7 separate regions of the Homo sapiens genome follow, and all the other regions are linked to region 7. Evidence: promoter capture Hi-C in 16 types of primary human blood cells and fetal thymus (Javierre and others, 2016). All regions are on one chromosome and are shown on one strand. The core of a region is centred on a gene start or on the middle of the fragment in contact, and the rest is flanking DNA. Distances in the headings are between cores, read along the strand shown.

The links. Contacts are between HindIII fragments. The CHiCAGO score rates a contact against its expected background, and 5 or more counts as called.
Region 1: a fragment that was not itself captured here is called in contact with the fragment with the promoter of POLB in region 7 in 12 of 17 cell types (naive B cells, non-activated CD4 T cells, total CD4 T cells and 9 more); the score reaches 9.1 in naive B cells.
Region 2: a contact is called between a fragment that was not itself captured here and the fragment with the promoter of POLB in region 7, in 6 of 17 cell types (activated CD4 T cells, total CD4 T cells, naive CD4 T cells and 3 more). The highest score is 9.6, in activated CD4 T cells.
Region 3: a fragment that was not itself captured here is called in contact with the fragment with the promoter of POLB in region 7 in 1 of 17 cell types (erythroblasts); the score reaches 5.3 in erythroblasts.
Region 4: a fragment that was not itself captured here is called in contact with the fragment with the promoter of POLB in region 7 in 1 of 17 cell types (naive CD4 T cells); the score reaches 5.1 in naive CD4 T cells.
Region 5: a fragment that was not itself captured here is called in contact with the fragment with the promoter of POLB in region 7 in 2 of 17 cell types (naive CD4 T cells and total CD4 T cells); the score reaches 5.7 in naive CD4 T cells.
Region 6: a fragment that was not itself captured here is called in contact with the fragment with the promoter of POLB in region 7 in 7 of 17 cell types (naive B cells, total CD8 T cells, naive CD4 T cells and 4 more); the score reaches 9.5 in naive B cells.

Annotation. Positions count from the first base shown.
Region 1 is chr8:41,962,585-41,966,153 of GRCh38, forward strand. The region is part of intron 8 of KAT6A (lysine acetyltransferase 6A); the gene reads right to left. Among named protein-coding and RNA genes, the nearest start is that of KAT6A-AS1, 87 kb to the right of the region's middle. The HindIII fragment of the contact is 2,712 bases long and covers 803-3,514 here.
Region 2 is chr8:41,987,775-41,990,896 of GRCh38, forward strand. The region is part of intron 2 of KAT6A (lysine acetyltransferase 6A); the gene reads right to left. Among named protein-coding and RNA genes, the nearest start is that of KAT6A-AS1, 62 kb to the right of the region's middle. The HindIII fragment of the contact is 9,711 bases long and covers 1-3,122 here.
Region 3 is chr8:42,802,320-42,805,746 of GRCh38, forward strand. No RefSeq gene overlaps it. Among named protein-coding and RNA genes, the nearest start is that of CHRNA6, 35 kb to the left of the region's middle. RefSeq lists an enhancer at 1,638-1,797. The HindIII fragment of the contact is 1,993 bases long and covers 1,110-3,102 here.
Region 4 is chr8:41,828,446-41,831,782 of GRCh38, forward strand. It overlaps a transcript of ANK1 not described here. Among named protein-coding and RNA genes, the nearest start is that of ANK1, 32 kb to the left of the region's middle. RefSeq lists enhancers at 1-94, 1-440. The HindIII fragment of the contact is 1,406 bases long and covers 754-2,159 here.
Region 5 is chr8:41,923,137-41,926,324 of GRCh38, forward strand. No RefSeq gene overlaps it. Among named protein-coding and RNA genes, the nearest start is that of KAT6A-AS1, 130 kb to the right of the region's middle. The HindIII fragment of the contact is 1,896 bases long and covers 492-2,387 here.
Region 6 is chr8:41,945,618-41,948,908 of GRCh38, forward strand. It overlaps KAT6A (lysine acetyltransferase 6A), which reads right to left. Exons shown (of 17, transcript NM_006766.5): 11 at 2,134-2,295; 12 at 974-1,067. Among named protein-coding and RNA genes, the nearest start is that of KAT6A-AS1, 100 kb to the right of the region's middle. The HindIII fragment of the contact is 4,864 bases long and covers 1-3,291 here.
Region 7 is chr8:42,336,885-42,340,013 of GRCh38, forward strand. It overlaps POLB (DNA polymerase beta), which reads left to right and starts at 1,610. Exons shown (of 14, transcript NM_002690.3): 1 at 1,610-1,801; 2 at 2,128-2,185. The coding sequence starts at 1,741. The HindIII fragment of the contact is 11,887 bases long and covers 1-3,129 here.

The DNA.
Region 1 (3,569 bases), core at 909-3,408, 370 kb before region 7:
TCCCTGCTTGTATACTGCCCCCCGCCCCCTCAATCTACACAGGAGCCAGAGAAATCCTGTTAAAACCAAAGTCATTCTTCTGCTCAAAACCCTCCCAGGGTTCCCATCTCATTCAGAGTAAAAGTCAAAGTCCTTACAATGGCCAAGAAGACCCTACAAAAGCCAGCCTTCCATTACCCTTCTGTCCTTGTCATCTGCTATTTTGAGCCTTATGTATTTGGCTCTAGTCACACTGGCCTCCTTGTACTTCCTTGATCATGCCAAGCACAAATTGTGACTCGGGTCTTTGCATTTCCTGTTCCTATGCCTGGAATGCTATTCCCCCGTTACCTACATGTTTCATCCCCTCACCTCCTTCAAGTTTTTGCTAAATGTCAGAGAGACAGTCCCCACCTGACCAATTTAATACTGCATACATTAATCCTCTCCCTCTGAATTCTCCCTCTTCCTCCCCTGCTTTTTCTCCATAACACTACCACATGGCATACCATTTATTTTAACCCATTCCAACCCAAACTAAACTGTAAGCTCCCAAGAGGAAGACATTTTTTATTTAATGTTTTGTTCACTGCTAAATCTCTAGTGCTTGGAACATGGTAGCCAGTATTTAGTAATATTTATTATTAGATAAATATTATCTTTGATAAAAATTTTAAACAATCACATGTGCTGGTAACACAGCAAATCTCCCACCCAAGGTCTCCTGTATATACATGTACACAACCATCTACCAAAGTTCTCCACTTTAGATTTCACACAATCCCACAACTGTGTAAGCATGGTCTCTTCTTCCATCTAAATAAGCTTCTTTTCCTATATTCCTACATGTAATACCATCATCTACTCCAAATAGAACACTAGAAGACCTACTTGGTTCTGCCCTCTCCTTCAATCCTAACTCCCAATCCAACAGCAGTCTTTTCCATTCTATCTTAAGTCTTTCTCAAAACGATTATCTATCTCTGTCTCCTATCTATCTCTTCTACCTTCATTTAGGCCCCAGTCACTTTTCATTTTGACTACTGTAATCATCTGACTGGTCCCTTGCTCAGGTGTTCCTCAATCCATTGCTGACAATATCACCAGACTTGAGTTTCTAAAATACAAATATGATGTCATCCACTTTTTAGAAATTCTTTAGCAGTTCCTCAAGAGCTATTTAGCTACTACTTAACTACTTTAAAGAGCTACTTTACCTGCAAGATTAAGTACAAACTCCTTAATATGAAACACAAAATCTTCATGATCTAGTACCCCTCCAATATCATCTCTTGTTTGAACTCCAACCAACTGCACACAGCTCCGAGAATACACGATTTCTCACACCCAAACTTGCTACTAGAAATGCCTTCTCACTCTTCTCCAATAGTAAACTTACTCATCCCTTCAGCACCCTACACAAATGTCACCTCCTCTACAAAGACTTAAAATTTTAGTTAACCACAATAACTAAAAATAGAACAATAACATCCCTAGATGTCTTCCTGTTCATTCTCACTGCAATTTATGCATATCTCCACAGTAATACTATATCATAAATTAAGCAGTTAAGGCCATGGAGTCAGAATACCAGGGTTCAAATATTGACTCTGAAACTTAACAATTTATAACTCTAGGTAAAACAATCCTTCTAATGTTTCCATTTCTTCATTTGTAAGATGAGGCCAAGTAATTAATAATAAAGTTGTATTAAATGAAACAAATTAATATATAATGCTGAATATAGTATTTTACATATAATAAGAGGGTATCTATTACTAACCACATGGCTTTAATTACTTGTTTATTCAATAGTCCCCCTTATCCACCCACTGGGAATACACCTTTCCAAAACCTACAGTGAATACCTGAAAACTGCAGATAGTATTAAATGTTATACAAGTTGAGTATCCCTAATCTGAAAATCTGAAACCTGAAATGCTCCAAAATCTGAAACGTTTTGAGCACTAATGATACTCAAACGAAATGCTCGTAAGAACACTGCAGATTTTGAATTCAGGATGCTCGACGGCTAAGCATATGATGCAAATATTCCAAAATCTGAAAAAAAAAAAAAAAAAAAATCAAAATCCAAAACACTTCTGGTCCCAAGCATTTTGGATAAGGGATAGTCAACCTGTATATACTATGTTTTTTCCTATTCATCCATACCCATGATATTTAATTTATAAATTAGGCACAGTAAGAGATTAACAACAATAACTAAAAACAGAACAATTAAAACGATGTACTGTAATAACAGTTACGTGAATGTGGTCTCTCTCAAAATATCCTATTGCATGGTATGCACCCTTCTGATGATGATGAGGAGGAGGAGACGATGATAATAAAATTCAGACCTTGGCAAGCCAAGGGTAACTGAAACCATGGAAAGCAAAACCACAGATAAAAGGGGGATTACTGTAAATACAGGAGATAGGGTGATTATTGGCCCATCAGATCAACAAATATTTGAGGACCTACTACATGCAAGTCACACTGTGGAGATGATATAGAAAACACAGTATCTGCCCATAAAGGTGTTGTAAGACAGGCAGTCCTTGTTTTTGATGGCACTGTGTTAATGGAAACAGGTACACATCAGAATTGTGTCCGTGCTTCTGAGGTGACAGATTTGACCTTAGTTCTGATATGCATGGGTTTTTTGTATGTTGTAATAAAACTTTATTTACGAACGCTAACATTTTTCACATAATTTTCACATGTCCATAAATATTATTCTTTTTATTTTTGTCCAACTGTTTAAAAATATTAAAACCATCCTCAGCTTGCAGGTCATACAAAACAGGCTGTGGATGGGACTGGGCCACAGGCCATATTTTGCCAACCCTAACACAGGTGAAGCAGTTTCTAAGCTGTATCTATGCCCTCAAAAATGACTTTCTGCATTACCTTTATGAGTCTTTTTATTATTCAAAACATCCTCTTATCTAGCCAAGATGAACTTTCCCAACTGGCTTCAAACCACTTTTTTTATTACAGCGTCAGAGAACCTGGAAGTCATCTTTGATCATCTCCTGTTCCTTCAATCTACTTTAGTTTGATAAGCATGGGTTTCAGTTAACATTGCACCATGCAAAGTGAGGAATAGCTGGAGTTTAGTTTGAGATAAGACAGGGTGGAACATCTGTTGGGCAATGGTAATACACTGAATTACTAGTATTAAGCTGCATTTTGGAGCATTTTGAAAGCTAGTAACAAGATGTCAGTTTCGGCATGACGGGATTTTAAGGTACCCCCATGACATCTTTTTGCTGTTAAGTGATGTCTCCTTGATGCTGCTGAAAGTAGGAATGGTAGGTGGGGCGATGTTTACTGTGTTAAGGCATTTACCCATTAAATATAAGTCACATATTAAAGGCCGCATAGATGTATTTTTAGTTCATTGGATAATTTAGCACAACTTATTAAAATAGTAGTTAAGAGCCTGGGAACTAGAAAAGGCTAGCACAGTTCAAATCCTATCTCGGCTGAATCACCTTAGTTGGGCAAGTCACTATCAGATTTGTTGAAAAGCTTAAACGAGTTGATATTTGCACAGAACTTACAGCACTATGCCATTCATGCAG
Region 2 (3,122 bases), core at 232-2,731, 350 kb before region 7:
ACTCCAAAAAATCCTATCCCAGTCATGTTCATCACTTAGAACCTAAATGATACAGTGTGGATTTTAAAAAGCAAACCCTTAAGATTGAAAAATTCAACTGGAATAAGTTCAAGAAGACACAGTGTAAGCGCTGAAAAAGCATGTGATCTAGTACAAGAGCAGTAAGATATATACAAGTAAACAGACACAGTGACTCCTCGGCAGAAGACATTAAGTGAGAGAAACAGTAAGTGTTTTCTAGCAGTACGAAAAAGAAATTCCAACTGTGGTGTGGAGGAAGGGAAAGGTTGAAAGGGGAAAACAACATGTACTAAGCATCAGTATTATGTTTTGGGATCTTTAGAAACTTGTCCAAGGACAGTAGCTAACAAATGTTAAGAGTGGTTTGTTTAATCTATGTTCCTCCTAAGAGTGATGGAGAGAAGGCAATAGAGGTAGTATAAGTAGCATAGACTTAGGTGTGCAGTCTGGTAAGGCCAATGCTTAAAGCACATAGCTTCTGCTATAAGGGAGGGGAAAAAAAATAAAAGAAAGAAGCTAGATAAGTTCGTGAAGACTGCCACCGAAGGTAAAGAAGTTGGACTCTCAAACTCATTAAAATGTATACATTAAATATTTGCTTTTTATATATCAATTATACCTAAATACAGCTTTAAAACGAAAATAAATTTTTTTAAAATTGGACTTTATCCTATAGGCAAGTTTACAGAACCAGGAGATAATCACTTGGAGAAAAATAATTATTGTAGCAATATCAAAGACAAACGGGGAAAACTCCAAAGATAGGTAAAACATTTAAACAGTGGTTACAATGATCTGGTGAAGACAAGATGAGAACTTGAACCAAAGCTAAGGAAATGAAATAGAAGAAATAGCAATGGGCTTAAAACCAGTTTTGAGAGTAGCAGAAAAACAAAGTGAGTTAAATATGACTAAGTGAACTGAAAAGATGGTGACGCTATCAACTGTGCACAGCAAGTCATTTTAAAGCAGAAAGTTTGGAGGAAAGCAATTTGGAGGAAACTGGTGAGTTCCATTTTAAATGTGTTTAGTTGGAGGTACCCTCAGTCACCTCTCAACTGTTTATGCTAGGCACTGTGCAGGATGGCAATGGAAAACCCTCAAGATGCATTCATTCATTGGTTCATTGATTTGCTTGCTTCCCCAAGGACAAAGTATCGAGATGCTTTTAGTCTACTGGGGAGAACAGATAAAGTACAATAAAATGTTTGTAGGTACCATGATAGAACTATAGTAATAGAAAACAGGAGGAAAGTGGGGAAGGAGGTACTTTCACAAAAGTACCCTTTGACTTAAGTTTTTCCAGAAGTATTTAACAGGCAGCCCCACCAGGTTCAAAAAGGTGTTCAAAAAGGTAGAAAATACACAATCAGGTTTGGGAAGGGAAGGTGAGCTTAGTTTGGGGCTTACTGAGCTTAAAAATGCTTATGTAGCCGGGCACAGTGGCTCACGCTTGTAATCCCAGCACTTTGGGAGGCCGAGGCGGGCGGATCACCTGAGGTCAGGAGTTTGAGACCAGCATGGCCAACATGGTGAAACCCTGTCTCTATTAAAAATACAAAAATTAGCCAGGCGTGGTGACATGCATCTGTAATCCCAGCTACTCGGGAGACTGAAGCAGAAGAATCGCTTGAACCCGGGAGGTAGAGGTTGTAGTGAGCCGAGATCGCACCATTGCACTCCAGCCTGGGTGACAAGAGCAAGAGTCCATCTCGGAAAAATAACATAACGTAACGTGACGTGACGTGACGTGACGTGACGTGACGTAACATAACATAACTAAAATAAAAAATAAAAAATACTTATGTAACATTCATGTAGCAATACCCACTGACAATATAATACAGAGAGATCTGAAATTTAAGACAGAGACTGGTCTGGATTTAAAAATCTAGAAGTCATATACATACAAAATGGCATTAAAGCCATCAGAATTGATGAGTTTTCTCACGGAGAAAGGTATGAAGAAGAGAGCTAAGGTGAGAATACCAATAATTAAGTGGCTGGCAGAGAATAAGCCAGAAAAGCAAACAGATTAATGAGAGAGTTGGGTGGAACACCAATATCAAAACATCCAACACAAATAAGCTAACAGTAGTGCTCAGCCAAGAGACTGAGAGATGAACGGCTAGTTGTCTTAATAATTATGGCTTAATCATAATTAAGACTACCACATCCTTTCCTCAAAAAGGAGTATGAAAAAAGAACTGGGGAAGTAAGTCAGGAAAGACTTTATCCAGCAGTAAAAATCTGGGGAAAAAAAAAAACCCAACAACTCTAAAGAAGGCCTAGGAAGAAGGTAGAAGCCAGTCATGAGATTTGAGCTTTATTCTGTAGCCTCTAAGGTACAACTGGGAGATTTTAGGCAGAGGAATAGTACGGCCAAGATTTAAATTTTAGAAAAGTCATTCTGTAAGCAGTTAAAAACTGATTGCAAGGGATGTGATCTATAATCCAGGCCATGAGCAAAGAAGGACTGTATTAAGGCGCTGAGCAAAGAAATGGAGAAAAGAAGATAAAAGATATTAAAAGATAAAATTGTCAGGACTTGATGGCTAATTGCTTTGGGGAGAGAAGCATAGTAAGGAAGACAAGAGACTGGGAAGACAGCACTAAGAAAATGAAAAGGCAAGCCACAGAATGTAAGACATTAACAACAAATTTAACCAACAAATGGCCCATATCCAGCATAAAGAACTTTTTACATTGCAGTAAGGAAGAGGCGGACAGTTCAACAGAGATGGCAAAGACTTCCACAGGTACTTTCCCACAGAAAATACATGAATAACACATGAAAGGCCAACAAACATAAGGAAAGATGTTCAACCTCATTAGTCACCAAGAAAATAGACTTTCGAGAATGGCTAAAATTATGAAGACCACTGATATTAAGGGTTGATTAAAAAGTGGAACAACAGCCAAGTGCAGTGGCTCACACCTGTAATCCCAGCACTTTGGCAGGCCAAGGCGGGCGGATCACAAGGTCAGGAGTTCAAGACCAGCCTGGCCAACATGGTAAAACCCCGTCTCTACTAAAAACACACAAAAAATTAGCTGGGCATGGTGGCGGGCATCTGTAATCCCAGCTAGTCAGGAGGCTG
Region 3 (3,427 bases), core at 856-3,355, 470 kb after region 7:
AAAGGAAACAAGCAAGAAACACAGAAGGGCATGTTTTCTCATACAGGTAATTCTAAATTATCTGCTACAAAAACCTTGTGTTTAAGAAAAAATTCAGCCAGGTGTGGTGATTCACACCTGTAATCCCAGAACTTTGGGAGGCTGAGGTGGGAGAATTGCTTGAGCCCAGGAATTCAAGACAAGCCTGGGCAACAAGGCCCCCATCTTTAATAAAAATCATCTAGCAAGACCCCATCTCTACTAAAAATAAAAAACTTAGGCCGGGCACTGTGGCTCACGCCTGTAATCCCAGCACTTTGGGAGGCCGAGGTGGGTGGATCACCTGAGGTCAGGAGTTCGAGAACAGCTTGGCCAACATAGCAAAACCCCATCTCTACTAAAAATACACAAAAATTACCTGGACGTGGTGGTGGGTGCCTGTAATCCCAGTTACTCGGGGGGCTGATGCAGGAGAATCGCTTGAACCTGGAAGGCAGAGGTTGCAGTCAGCTGAGATTGCACCATTGCACTCCAGCCTGGGCAACAAGAGCGAAACTCCGTCTCAAAATAAAATAAAAATAAAAATAAAAAACTTAGCCACGTGTGGTGATGCACACCTGTAGTCCCAGCTATTCAGAAGGCTGTGGTGGGAGGATCGCTTGAGTCCAGGAGGTCGAGGCTATAGTGAGCTACGATTACACCACTGTACTCCAGCCTAGGTAACAGAGCACAACCTTGTTTTTTAAAAAAAAAAAAAAAGTCTTATTGACATTTAAGTTGGTTGGGGTAGGGGGGGATTTGAGATGGAGTCTTGCTCTGTTGCCCAGGCTGGAGAACAGTGGCGCGATCTCAGCTCACTGCAACCTCTGCCTCCCAGGTTCAAGCAATTCTCTGCCTCAGCCTACTGAGTAGCTGGGATTACAAGCGCCCACCACCACGCCCGGCTAATTTTTGTATTTTTAGTAGAGACAGGGTTTCACCATCTTGGCCAGGCTGGTCTTGAACTTCTGACCTCATGATCCACCCATCTCGGCCTCCCAAAGTGCTGGGATTACAGGCGCGGGCCACCGCACCCAGCCAGTTTTTTTTGGATAGACACAGAAATGGACCCTTCTGGTCTTAAAGCTTGAAGCTTACGTTTGTTTTATCTGAGTTCTTTCCTCAGGAATGGACCTTCAGGCTGCTCAAAAAAAGTATCAGGGAACTGAAACTCACCAGATCACCACATCCTGACAATGAGTTGGACCCTTCATTCATCATGATTGCCTCCTTGGCCCTCCCAAGTTCCTGTTTTCTTACACATTGTTACATTCCCTCCCTGCTATAGAAACCCCTAGTTTTAGTGGGTCAGGGAGATGGATTTGAGGCTGAGTCCCCATCTCCTCGGCCATAGCACTGGATTAACGCCTTCTTCCTTGGCATTACTGGTGGTCCCAGTTCATTGGCTTTCTGTGCAGCTTGCGGCAGGACGGAGACTGAAACCCTGGTGGTTCAGTAACAGAGAGAGTCTAGCATGAATTGAGCTCAACCTCGATTTGTACAGAGGTGACTGGGAGTTTTTAAAGAGAGAATGAGGGAGCAGTGAAGTGAGTGAGCAGGGGCTCAGTAGACTGAGGGAAGTGAAAAGTTATGAAAAGCAGGAATGAGGGCCTAGTGTTACCCAAGTTAGGCTCCTATGCCCCCACCGAGGTTGGGAGTCAGTAATTCTTTTGGCAGCTTGAGTTTCCTCAGGCAGGCATTTTTCCTCTGGGGACATCCTAGAGAAGTGGCTTTAAGCTGCTAGAAACTGGGTCAGTGTTTTGCTCAACTCTTGCTAGGCCAACATTGAGGTCCAGTGGAGAAAGGGCTCAGAGGAGCCTGGCCAGAGTTTGGATAAGGAGAGTCTTTGTCAGGGCAAAACAACAGATAGCCAGGAGTGCAAGGCCTGGGTGAGACAGCCACATATTCCCCTTCCAGAGGCAGGGTCAGCCTGGCTCTGTTCCTGCTCACTGGGCCCCATGGAAAGGCATTGCCAGAATATGTTTTGCTTTTTTTTTTTTTTAAGAGAAACCTAAAATCTTAATTCTATGTGATCTCTCCTGAATTTTTAATTTTGACCAATTAAAAACACACTTCAAATGGCAGTAGCCCCACAAAATACATCCGCCGGCCAGATTCAGACCATGACCCACAATAATTTTCCTTTCTTTTCTTTTCTTTTTTTCCTGAGATGGAGTTTCACTCTGTGGCCCAGGCTGGAATGCAGTGGCGTGATCTCAGCTCACTGCAGCCTCTGCTTTCCAGGTTCAAATGATTCTGATGCCTCAGCCTCCAAGTAGCTAGGATTACAGGTATGCACCACCATGCCTGGCTAATTTTTGTATTTTTAGTAGAGGTGGGGTTTCACCATGTTGGCCAGGATGGTCTTGAGCTCCTGACCTCGAGTGATCGGCCCGCCTCGGTCTCCCAAAGTACTGGGATTCCAGACGTGAGCCACCGCACCCGGCCTGCAATAATTTTCTAATTCGGCCCTAAGCAGAAAATAGAAGATGTCTTCGGTTGCTGTTTTATTTAGGAAAATATGCAGACAGATCATTTTGCTGAGCTAGTCTGTATTGCTTAGTTGCTCTACATAAAGCAAGATATTTATGTGGCATTTGCCACCTCCCTCACCCCCCATAGAAAATAAGAACGTTCTTAGGAGTGAGTGTGAAAGCAGATTTCAGCAATGTGCCTGACGGTCTGCACCCAAGGTCAGCGAGATGGGTAGGAACTCAGGCATGAGATGGCTGCCGTTTTTGCAGTCCCACTCCCCCACTGCACCCCCATGCACATGCTGCAATAACCCTGTTGTCGGAACCTGCGGTGGCAGCCTGTTTCACAGAAGCATTGCTGTAGTGGCACCAGGGGATAAAAACCAGTTGCCCCACTGGAAAGTTTAATAATGTTTCAAAAGATCATAGTGTTACTATTAGGAACAATGAATACCAGAATGCAAATATTCATGAATAAGGAAAGCAATGGTTTTAGCTAATTCATTTTATTTTGGAAAGTGACATGTGATCAGTGACTTTAAAGGAAGCCTTACGTTTATGTGATTGCGGGTTGGGGGGAAGGTTGTTTTGTCAGACACAGCAAATACCAAGCTTCCCCTGCCACCTACTGGCTGTTCCTTGCAATGAAAAAATTCTGAATAAGATGTGGTATATTAGAACCAGAGGTTGTTGTGAAAATAATTTTTAAAAATTAGCCTGGTGGCACACGTCTGTATTTCCAGCTAGTCGGGAGGCTGCAGCAGAGAATCGCTTGAACTCTTGGGAGGCGGAGGCTGCAGTGAGCCGAGATCGCGCCACTGCCTCCTGGGCGACAGAGGAAATTATTTCTAAAGCTGGGTGGTGTGCGCATTGACATTTATGATGTTTTTTGTTTGTTTTGTTTTGTTTTGTTTTGAGACGGAGTCTCGTTCTGT
Region 4 (3,337 bases), core at 207-2,706, 510 kb before region 7:
GCACTGAATTACAGATCCCGTCTGTGGCCGCCAGCCTCTGTGTCCTGCCACCTCCTCCGAGAGGACATCACCGCCACCAGGTGGAGCGAGTCTCCTCCTCGGCGCTCCAACCACGTGCTGTTTATTACTCTGTGGGGATTCCCATACCGAGGCCTCTTCAGTTCCTGGAACAGTAGCACTAAAAGGCTCCTGAGTGCCTCTGTTAATTTGATTGTTCTGGTTCGCACTACAATGACCGGGCTGGAGAGGGGGCGCTCGTAATGAAACAGGAACTGCTCCTCGCGCCCGCTCCAGAGTCCTTTACATCTTTGGGGAGAGGGCATACGGGGAGCTACATTTCATTTTCCTGAAGATTTTCCACGCGAAAGTGCTGGGGAGAGAGTTGGGCCTGGGAGGCTGCGCCTTCTTCCCGCGAATCCCGAAAACTGCGCGGCAAAGGCGGGTTCCGCAGAAGTCGCGCGTGACCCGGGGCGCCGCCCTCCTCGGGGCCCATTCGGATCTGCCGCCCGTCCTCTCCAGAGCGCCCCCTGGCGCCCTCTAGGCCATCTTGATTCCACCGCCGCAGTTGAAAGAATTAATAAATAAATCCTAGTCTCGCGTCTAGACCGGTCCGTGAGGGTCCCCTGCTCACCGGACACCCTGCCGCAATCTCTGCTGTCCCATTCTGGCCTCCCTACGGGGACGGGGGCCACCGTTTGCACATCAGCGGCGTTTGGGACAGCACTGTGCAAGATCTGTGACTCGGCTTTCAGAAGCTTCTGCCACAAGGCTTCAAAGGAAACCTTCAATTTTCACATTTCCTAGGGGGAAAAAAAATCTGAGATTTCTTCTTGTGGCTTGATGAACTTAGCTTTCGTCGCTGGAACAAAACCCGAGGAACAGCGTCTTCGCCACCCTTGCCACCTTACTGATGTTTCTCAGGGGGCACATGCCCATCGCAACCTTATGACCAATCCCATTTTTCAGATGCAGAAAGAGGCTCAGAGAGGTTAAGTGCTACTTGCTCAAGGCCACAGCAGGGAGTGGAGCTGGATTCGCTCCCAGGCAACTGACCCCAGCGTGCAGTCGATGCCTTCTCCTAGTCCCACTCACCGTGTAAGACCTGGTATTTACAAATTAGATTCTCGTTGTGCTTCTCCATTGGAAGGGCACTAGGGGAGCTCATTGTCTAAGACTGCCATCCCTAACTGCCTTTTAAAAAGAAATCTGGGCCGGGCGCAGTGGTTCATGCCTGTAATCCCAGCACTTTGGGAGGCCGAGGCAGGCAGATCACGAGGTCAAGAGATCGAGACCGTCCTGGCTAACACGGTGAAACCCCGTCTCTACTAAAAATACAAAAAATTAGCCGGGCGTGGTGGCGGGCGCCTGTAGTCCCAGCTACTTGGGAGGCTGAGGCAGGAGAATGGCTTGAACCCAGGAGGCTGAACTTGCAGTGAGCCGAGATCGCCCCACTGCACTCCAGCCTGGGCGACAGAGCGAGACTCTGTCTCAAAAAAAAAAAAAAAAAAAAAAATCTGACGTGACAAGGCCTTTAGTTTTTATAAGTGAGGTCTCCTCTCTTTGCCTAGATATTCCTCCGATAACATCAATGAAATTTTGCCCAGCACAGAGCAAGTACTAAATAATGATTTGGTGAATCTAATGTTGAGCCTGCAGTAATCCAACTAGAAACACCCACTCAGCCACTCGGGCATACCTTTTATTTGGGCAAGGGGCACTGCAGTTCTCTGGGCAGGGGTCAGCTAGGAGAGACCAATAGATGCCCCCACCCCAGGCTCCTAGACCCATCTCCAGGACCAAACAGCCAAAGCCCCTCTTCTTTTCTTCAAAATACACACATTTCTAGAAATTCTCTGCAAAATACATAGGCTACTAGATAAGCACCCAGTTTCCCTCTGGGGTCATTTGTTCCCGAATGAGGCTTATTAAAAGAGGAAACTATTTTTAAGCTAAATCATCAATCAAAAGTATTCTTCATTCTGGTATATGGCTGCTTTCCACAGATGATAAAATCCCGTCAACTTGATCCAAAGAAAAAATGACCTACATAACAATGACAGCATGAATAACAATTAATCCTCCATTGAAATGTTCAAAAGCTAGAATTGTGGTAAAGCCAAGATTCCCAGGGAGTGTCAGGAACTGCTCTCTTGATTCTAAGCTTGAAGCAGGTAAAGAAAAGGTTGTCTGGGACTAGGGCTTTCGGGGATAGGACCCAAATCCCAAGGCAAAGGGAGTCAGAAGCGAGTAAGAAAAGCAAACAGCTCCTACCTACCCAGTGCCAAAGAAACGCAGACACCAGTTCTGTGTCGGTTCTGCTTGAAAAGGTCTGAGAAGAATAATTTGGTAGATGAATCATTGAAGAATAATTTTGCAGACAGCTCCATCAAGCCAAATGCCCAGCGTGAGGGCTGTGTGTATAATACTGTCATAACCTTTGAAGATAGATTCTGTTCATCAACACGGCTGTTTACATAATCACTTGGTCACCTCACCAAATGGATTAATCTTTTTGGTCACATTCCTTATCAGTGCATGGAGAGGCTAATTGTTGGTGGCCCAATGTGTCCCATAAACGGATCCCATGAGAATAAGCTTGCAGCAACAGATGATGAAGGGAACTGAGATACAGACGAAAGCACAGCGGCCTGGGAGACAGGAGACGAGGCTCCGCCTGGACCTTGACGACGACCTTCCTTAAAACTATGGACTCGTCATCTGACCTCTCAAGGCCTCCATTTCCCCATCTGTAAAACCGAAAGCCCCTCAGCAATCTGGGGCTATCATCTGAAAAGTGTGGGCAGCTGCGGGCGCTCATACCTCAAGCCCCAAGAGTTTCTTCTTCTAACAGTAACATACTTTGCACATGACCCAGCAATCCCACTCCTGGGTATTTACCTGATAAATGAAAACCCATGTTTGCCGGGCATGGTGGCTCATGCATGTAATCCCAGCACTTTGGGAGGCCAAGGTGGGCGGATCACTTGAAGTCAAAAGTTCAAGACCAGCCTGGAAAACATGGTGAAACCCCATCTCTACTAAAACTACAAAAATTGGTGGGGTGTGGAGGCACATGCCTGTAGTTCCAGCTACTCGGGAAACTGAGGCAGAAGGATTGCTTGAACCCAGGAATTGGAGGTTACAAGTGAGCCAAGATTGCGCCATTGCACTCCAGTGCAGAGCAAAAGTCTGTCAAAAAAAAAAAAAAAAGAAGAAGAAAAAGAAAAAAGGAATGAAAGGAAAGAAAAGGAAGGAAGGAAGGAAGGACCATTAAGAAGGTACCTGTACCCAAATTTGCAGAGCAGCTTTATTTTTATTTATCACCGCCCCAGACTGG
Region 5 (3,188 bases), core at 190-2,689, 410 kb before region 7:
GTGATAATGATGTATCAATGTAGATCAATTGTAACAAATGTACCACTGTGGAGGAGGATGTCAATAATCGGGGAGGCTGTACATGTGTGGGGACAAGGAACATTTTGTACTTTCTACTCAATTTTGCTGTAAACCTAAAACTGGTCTAGTAAATCAAGTACATTAATTTTTTTTAAGAAAACCTCCCTCTATGATTTTTCTCTCATTATAGTTTTGCCCATTTTTGCTTTATATATTTTAGGATCACATTAATAAGGCCATATGAATTTAGAATTTTTATACCTTCCTGATGAATTAAAACTTTTACCATTTTTAACCCTCTTTATTTTGGTAATCCTTTTTGCCTTAAATTCTATTTTGTCTCATATTAATATACCTATACTAATGCTTTCTTTTGTTAGTGATTTCCTAACATAGTTTTTCTATTTTTTTAACTTATGTTTTTCTTATGTTTTTGATGTTTCTCTTATCAACAGCATATAAGGTTTTTAAGCTTTATTTTTCTAATAATCTGTGTCATTTAAATGGAATATTTAGTCCATTTACAAATCACTTAATTACTGATATATTTGGGTTTAAGTCTATTTATAATGTCTTTTCTATTTACTTGTGTCTTTTCTCTCCTTTGTTCCCTTCTTTCAGATTATTTTTCACATTTTATCATTCCATTTTCTCCTTGTATTATTTTGGAATTACACACTGTTTCTGTTCTTTTAGTGATTACCCTGGAAATTAAAATATGCATCTTTCAAAAAAAGTATCTTTAATTTCTCAGTAATATTAATCAAGACATTGAAAGACGTTGAAGCACTTTAACTCCATTTATCCCTTCCTAATTGATATGAAATTGTCTTGTGTTTAAGTGTATGCAATGCATGTGTGTATGAGAGAAAAAAATCATGCCTTTCCAATAATGCAGAAAAAGTGTTTGATAAAATTCAACATCCTTTTATGATAAAAACTCTTAGGAAACTAGGAATTGAATGGATATTCCTTCATGTGATTAAGGGTATGCCTGCTCTAATGACTTCAACACTGTACTGAGCCAGTGCCGTAAGACCAAAAAAAGAAAAAATGATATAATGTTCGGTGAATGGAAGAATCAATACTGTTGTCAATTTTCATTAAATTGATTTTTAGAATAAATGCAATCAAAATAAAATGTCATTATGATCATTTAGGAATCTAATACGTTAATTCTAAAAATATATGGACATGCACAAAGCCTAGAAGGGTCAATCACTTCTGAGAAGAAAAACAACTTAGGAGGAGGACTTGCTTTACTTAATATGAAGATTTATTTTGTAGCTACAGTAATCAAACCAGAATAGACATAGAGATCAATGAAGCAGAATAAATCGTCCAGAAATAGGCTGATGCGTATATGGACACTTGACATAGAGCAGTGGAGAAAGAAATAGTGCTGTCAGAACCGTGTCTCCACATGGGGAAAAGATGAAACTGGTCCCTACCTCATGCCATGAACAAAAATCAATTTCAGATACTTTAAAGATTTAACAATGTAAGCAAAATAAGCTGTTAGAAACTAGAGAATATCAGATAAAACCATTATAATCTCAGAGTAGGGAAAGATTTCCCAACCCACACAGAAAAAAGCACTACCCATAAAGGAAGATACTACTGAACTTGGAACACACTAAAAACTTATGTTCATCAAAAGATACCCTTAAAGTGAAAGGGCAAGTCCCAGAATGGCAGAAGATACGTGTGACATAAGTAACTGACCAAAGACTCTTATTCAAAGTATATAAAGTACTCCTATAAATCAATAAGAAAAAGGCAATTCAATAACGATCCAGGCACAAGACTTAAACACACTCTTCACAAATGAGGAATCTCAAATAGCCACTAAGCATATGAAAAGGTACTCAACTTCATTAGTAATCAGAGAAATGCAAAAGAAAATCACAGAGATTCCACTACACACACACCAGACTGGCAGAAATTGAAATATTTGAAAATATCAAGTATTGACAAGAATGTGGAATAACAAGAACTTTCATACACGGCTAATGGGGGCCAACAACAAGAAACGGAATGGTTACTTTTGAGTCTGGCGTTAGGTGGTACAGCTGGAGTTACACCTGCCTGATCATCCAGCAATTCACCTTTTAGGAGCATACCTATGAGCAATGTCTGCAAATGTGCACCAGATGTATGTGGGATTAAACACAGCAGTATCATTGGTAATAAACCAAACTGAAACCTACATATTTGTCAACTTTAGAATGTATACATTTTTTGTAGTCATATAATATTATACAGCAGTGAAAATAAATGAACTACAGCAACGTCCAACTTCATAAACAAATCTCACGAACATGTTGAGGGAAGCCAGATGCAAACTGTATGATTCCATTTCTGTAAGCTTCAAAACAAGATAGAGTGAAGCTATGATGCTTAAGAATGCACACCTAGGTAGTAAGATACAAGAAAAAGATTTACCGCCTAAGCCTGGATGGTGATCATTTCCGCTTGGGAGGGTAGACTGTGCTTAGGAAGGGCCCTCCAAGCCACAGTGGAGGGACTACTGAGCTGCAGTTCTATTTTGCAGCCTGATTTATTTTTAGAGAGGTATTCACTTTAGACAAATGCATTCAGCTATATGTGTTTTATTGACTTTTCTGTATGTGCTTTATTTTCACAATAACAAGGGGTTTAAAAAAGATGTAAGGGAACCAAGTCCATCTTATTGCATGGGCATTTTCATGTCTTCGTGTGACACCTGAGGCTGCAGAGGAAAGCAGTTTAGATGGCAGTCCGCTGGCAGCAAGGCAGACCCCACGGAGCGGGGAGTTGCCTGATAGCAGCAGCACTGCAACCTGAGATCCCTGTGCTGAGACTCAGCAAAGGTGAGTGGCAGTAGCTGGCTTGAGTCTGCTTTGCTTTGTATTCCTCTGTTCTTTTAATTGAACTACTTCCCTGACCTTTTAAAGTTGTTCTTGCAATAATACATATTATTCAGCTTTCAGATTTACAGCTTTCAATCATCCTTTGAGAATGTCAGGTTAGTTCTAGTTAATTTTAGCTGTTTTCTCTAAACAGGAGGTAAGACAAACTTCTTTGAAATCATGTAATTATCCCATTTGCAAGAAGTCCTTGCCTTTATTAGTAAAGCCTTAATCACTGTCTCTTTGTCAATGTTTTCATTTTCTTTGGAAAACTAT
Region 6 (3,291 bases), core at 476-2,975, 390 kb before region 7:
TAGTATTATTAGTATTACTGCATGAAACTGAGTTCCATTGTAAATGAACAATAGGAAATTAAAGGTATGTGCTACACATCACACAAAATTTTATTCAATATTAGCTGTTTAAAAATATTTCGTGTCCAAGGCCACGCATGGTGGCTCACGCCTGTAATCCCAGTACTTTGGGAGGCCAAGGCGGGTGGATCACGAGGTCAGGAGATCGAGACCATCCTGGCTAACACGGTAAAACCCCGTCTCTAGTAAAAATACAAAAAAATTAGCCGGGTTGTGGTGGCTGGTGCCTGTAGTCCCAGCTACTCGGGAGGCTGAGGCAGAAGAATAGCCTGAACCCAGGAGGCAGAGCTTGCAGTGAGCCGAGATCACGCCACTGCACTCCAGCCTGGGTGACAGAGCGAGACTCTGTCTCTCAAAAAAAAAAAAAAAAATTCGTGTCCAACCAAAATAAAAGGAACGTGTGGCTTTAGGTTTTATTTATTTCCATTTTTATTTTGAGACAGAGTCTTGCTCTGTGGCCCAGGCTAGGGCCTGCAATGCAGGGGTAGCATTGCTCACTGCAGCTTCAACCTCCTGGGCACTCAAGTGATCCTCTCACCTCTGCTTCCTGAGTAGGTGGAACCCTAGGTACATGCCATCATGCCCACCTAACTTTTTAAATTTTTTGTAGAGACAGGGTCTTGCCATGTTGCCTAAGCTGGTCTTGAACTACTGGGCTCAAGCAATCCTCCCACCCCAGTTTCCCAAAGTGCTGGGATTAGAGGTATGAGCCACAGTGTCCAGCAGTGGCTTTAGGTTTTAAAGAATCATATAGCTATATGACAAAAGATACTAGCAGCCAACAAAGCACCTACAAATCTTTAAATATATATATATACACACACACACACACACACACACACACACACACACACACACACACACAGAGAAGGTCCACTGGAAAAGACCAATGAGAAATTAATATAATCCTTACTGAAATCGATGAGAAACCTGCCATAGCCCTTACGCTGGTATTGAGGAAGAATCATTATACAGGAAACATTGTACTTCTGTTGGCAGTGCTTTTCCTGGTGGAGAAAACACAAGTCAAGTTTGAAAACAGGCTGGTAAAAGTGAATAATAACGTGAATTAAGAAACAAAGACTAATGGCCAAAACCCACAGCCCTGGTCCTTTGGGAATAGCAACGTACATCAACAAACAACTACCCAGCTGGGAGAAGATAGGATAATGTCAAGTCACTGCCATTACCCACAAAGCAACCATCCCAGGAGAGTAAAAATATATAACAAAACAATGCCATCCAACACCATCTGCAACTCAAACACAGTACGCCAATGCCTAAGGATCAGCACCGGAATCTGAGTCCCAAACAATCCGTAAAGCTACAAATGATGAATCAGTGTGCCACTCTAGAAGTGAGAAGACTCATTAATTATGTCAGAGTTTTCTTTCTCTCCTGCTCTGGTGCTCCTCAGAGCAGTCCTATTAGTTGTATCTAACTTTACACAAAATAGTCACTTTTATAATTTTATAAATGAGTGAATATATTTTAAGTCACATCTAACTAATGAAGTAGCCTAAAGAATTCTTATAAATGCTTATAAAAAGCTAGTACTTCCCCTAACTGTTTTATACACTTGGATTTTACCACAGGCTTGCTTAAATAAAAGTATATCTTTTATGTTCTCTGACTAGAAATAAACTTTCTCCCTCTAAGGGAATGGAAGATTAAAAAAGGAGAAAATATCCTTTAACCAAAATGCCTTCTTACTCTTATTTCTATGCCTAAAGTTCAAATAAGGAAGAGAAGATTGAAGCTGAGACAGAACTCAGAGAGCTAATGACTGTTTATTTCAGAAGTTCCATGTTATTACCATGGGAAGAGAAGCCATTTAAAACCTTCCCCGTGAGTATTGCCAGCAGTCCATAATCCTAGGAGAATATAGGTTGTTGAATGTTACTAAGCACCTTCTAGCACCTGGTAAGTTTCCAAATGTTCCTTCTATTCTTTCCAAACAGCTAGATGACACCTAGGAGGTGCTGCATCTTGTTGTGTCCCCGAGTGAGAACCAGCAAAGATTCTTTCAGATTTCTATATGAGTTCAAACAAACTTTAAGCTGACATACTTACCTTAGAAAAGTAGCCAACAAGGTGGCAGCCCTTGACATCATTCTGTGTTAGTACATAAAAAAGAAATGGCTCCACATCGTAATAGAGGGTTTTGTGGTCAAGAAACAACTTTGCCAAAAGACACAGGTTTTGACAATAAATGGTACTCACATTCCCATCAACCTAGAGAAATAAACAGAACAAAACAGTCAGTAGAGGGTCTCTTTAGTTCTAGAATAATATGTATCAGTTAAAAGCATCTCTAGATATCCACAGTCCAGACTAGGAGAAGGTGTCCATGACCAGAACACTTTGGAACCTGGAAGCCATCCTTTGAAATGGCAGTATTATGCTATCTGCTGTTTTAAGACAACCAAATATATAAAACCTCATACCTTCAACATAGCAGGAACAGCCAGATAAGGAAGTGATAATCTGGTTTTAAAAGAGCAATTTTTGCTTTAATAAAAAGATGAATTGTAGCAATCCTTTAGATAGCAAGTTTCGTTTTCAAAGTACTTAACACAACAAAAGATCTAAATACAACCCTTCTAAAATACATTTATTAGGTAAAAGAAGATGTAACTATGTAGTCTAATCTATGCCAGCTGCCTGAAGCAATGCAATCTGACTACCATGATCGGGCTTGAACCCAGATAAAACTACTTAAGGGGGTACTAACTATTGCCACGCAGAAGCACCAAGCGGGTTCCTCAAGCAATCATGTGGTAAATGAGGCTCCAGGTTGGCCAGGCCCAGGAGCACTCTGCTGCTCTTTTGCTCCTGGCAGCCTTGTCTGTGTTCATGGAGTTGCCAGAGCTTTCTATCAAAACGCCAATGGATGCCCACATTAGCTCCCAAGACACTGTCTGCGATACTAACAGAACTCCTCAACAACCCAGGTAGTTTAATATTCTCTTCAAACAGTATATACCACACCTACCCCAGCTTCTCCCAAGGTAAAGAACTCCTCTACTGATCACTTAAAAGAGTCTTAGGGAGGACCAAGAAAAGTGAGAGACTGAGGGGATCCTGACAATCTGAAATTTTACTGTTACAGTAAGTAAACGGCACATAAGCAAGTACTCAATTAATACTTGGCACGAAAACCACAGAACTGAGGATCAAGAGCGCTACTAACAGCAATAGAGAATCACAGAGCAGAGGTCACACATCATC
Region 7 (3,129 bases), core at 360-2,859:
CGGGAGGCAGAGGTTGCAGTGAGCCGAGATCGTGCCATTGCACTCTGGCCTGCGGGACAAGAGTGAAACTCTGTCTCAAAACAAAAAAATTTGTAAAACTGATCCCACAATTCCCTACATTTGTAACTTTTAAAATTCAGAGGTAAATACATTTTTATTTAAGGAGGAATAATTCTTCAGAGCAAAATAATCTGAATATCACCTGGAATAGAGATTGGACAGAAAAAAGTGTGAACAGGGAAAACTAGGACAAGTCATATATGTAAATGAGAGTATAAAGAGTAAATGAGAGTGGTCACTGCTCACTGCAGCTTAACTAATCAGATAGTTAAGTTGCAGGCATAAAGTTTTTTTAACTTTTATTCCTCAAGTAATAAATTGAGGAAAATACAAATATGTACAAAATTTTTACAAAAGCTATCCATAAAAGGGCAAGTAGTAATATATAGAAAAGATCTACCAGATTAGTAACAAACTACCCCCATTAGGAAAATGGTAAATGATATGAATAGGAAATTCAAAAAAAGAAGAATTACAGATTTCCAATAAGCATAACTTAAGATATACACTGATATTGTAAGGAAACACAATCACCACAACCTTGCTAATCAAAGAAACTAATGATATTTATTGGAAAATAATGGGAATTTTTAATAGACTGGGTTAGAAGACTAGAAGTGTACGTCCCAAAATATTAATAGTTCAGCTGTAGGGTGAGATCACTGATTTTAATTTTCTCCTTTTATACATTTTTCCAGATTTCTCTACAGCAACTACGTATCATTTTGTAATAAATTTTAATTTTTCGATGCACAAAGCAATTGCCTGGAATTGCAGTTCGATATGAACCCAGGAGTTACGCTTGTAAAATAAACTATTGCTGATGTGACATTTCCATTTCTCAAGCAGACTGTAAATTTCTCAGATGTAGGTCATCATGTTATAATTAGGGTTCCATTGCTCATGATCTAGATGAAACACTTCTCCCTTTCTTGTGGTCTCTTCATTAATTTGGTCCCTACCGCAAAGGCAGGGGGATTAAAAATAAAATATCTTTTGACACTGGTTGGCAGGTGTACTAACACGTGTGCGGGAGGATTCCTGTTCTCGGCATGGTTCACGCCGGGCTCCGGCAGCGCCCTAGTACGTAAGGGGCTGCACTGGAGTGTGGACTGCCCGGTATCCTTAGAGAAAGTTTTGACAGTGTGACGCCAGTGTCGCCTCTAACCACGTACAAAACGCGCCATGCATTGGGTAGCTATTACAGTGCACATTTTTGTGCAGGAAGCTACCCCACCAGCGCAAGTATTTCAGAATCAAGATCGCACTCCCGTTTCCCCTTCTAGGGAAAGGATTCCAGATAAACACTGAGAAAACAGATTTAATATCTTAGGTCAAAACTCCAGGTCTTCCCATAGGAAGGCCCCTGGGCTGTCATTCTGAGGTGCCTATTTCCCCCGCGCCGTGTCCACGTCCACGAGTCCACGAACCCTCCGAGTTCTCTCTCCTCACCTGCCGAGGGCTCGCCCCTCTAGCCCCGCCCCGCCCCGCCCAGGACGCGTGACGTCACAACAAGCGCCGTGCGCCCCGCCCCCCATCGGGGGCAACCATTGTTCCGCCGGTCGCGCCGGAGCTGGGTTGCTCCTGCTCCCGTCTCCAAGTCCTGGTACCTCCTTCAAGCTGGGAGAGGGCTCTAGTCCCTGGTTCTGAACACTCTGGGGTTCTCGGGTGCAGGCCGCCATGAGCAAACGGAAGGCGCCGCAGGAGACTCTCAACGGGGGAATCACCGACATGCTCACAGGTTAGCACCGGGCCGGGCCCCGCTGGCTTTCTTCTTTCCTTCCAGCCTCTTCCCCTGCCTTCCTTCTCTCCCACACCGACAGTCCAGTGGGTAGGGTAGGTTCCTTGCAGCGGGTCGTCTTCCGTGGGGATCTCCCTCCGGCGCCCCTGGCTGGTTGTCAGTCCTGCCGGCTACACCTGGGCCATCGCTTGGGCTGCTTTTGGTCTGGCCCTTGGAGGAAACGGGTGGTCACTGTCTCTTAGAGGCTGCCATATCCCCTTCCAGAAAACAGTTCTCGTTTGTTTACTCGTGGTTCTTGTTCACCCGAGCCTTCTGTTGCCTTTCAGAACTCGCAAACTTTGAGAAGAACGTGAGCCAAGCTATCCACAAGTACAATGCTTACAGGTGGGACAGTGCAGCATTCTCGGGTAGCATACGTTCTGGGATACCCTGTTTAGTGTGGCAATTAACAGGACTGAGGGCCCAGTGGATATTTGGTCCATCTGCAAGAGCGGGAAAAAGCAAGAATCGAGGCTGGTACCTTACTATTTCTTGAAGAATGTGGGCAGTGCGTTATAGGATCAGTTCAGATAAGTTCCCAATTCTGATTGCAGATAGCTGTAGCCTGATACGTATTTTGTCATCATCAAACATGAATTACTAGAAATGCGGTGTAATTTTAACCGTAATGAAAGACAGCGGATGAAGTCCATACTGTGAAATATATGTGGTTCAAGGAATCACATTTTTTCTTTTGGTTGGTCTAAAGTTGATCCTGTGGGATCCTGATCCTGATCCTTGTTCCTTGTTCATGGGATCCTGTCCTTGTTCATCTCACCAGGGGCCTTATCCTATTCATTCTTTCCACATCCACCTGCTTCTACTCCTTAGCCTATATTTATTTATTTATTTATTTTTATTTGAGACGGGGTCTCGCTGTGGTATGATCATGGCTCATTGCAGCTTCAACCTTCCAGCCTCAAGTGATCTTCCCATCTCAGCCTCCTGAGTGGCTGGGACTACTACAGGCGCACGCCACCACACCCAGCTAATTTTTTTTTCTTTCTTTTTTTTTCTTTTTTTTTTTGTAGAGACCGGGTTTTGCTATGTTGCCCAGGCTGATCTCCAACTCCTAAACTCAAATGGTCCACACACCTTGGTCTCCCAGAGTGCTGGGATTCCAGGCATCAGCCTCGGTGTCAGCTCTCCTTAGCCTATAAATATGTGCAAGTCCCTCAGCTCTTAAAAGCAAAACCAAAACAATCTTAACTTCCCTCTAGCTAGCACCTTCCCTCTTTTCTCACTTTATGGTGAATCTTCTTGAAAAATCTTCATTCCTTGCCTGGACT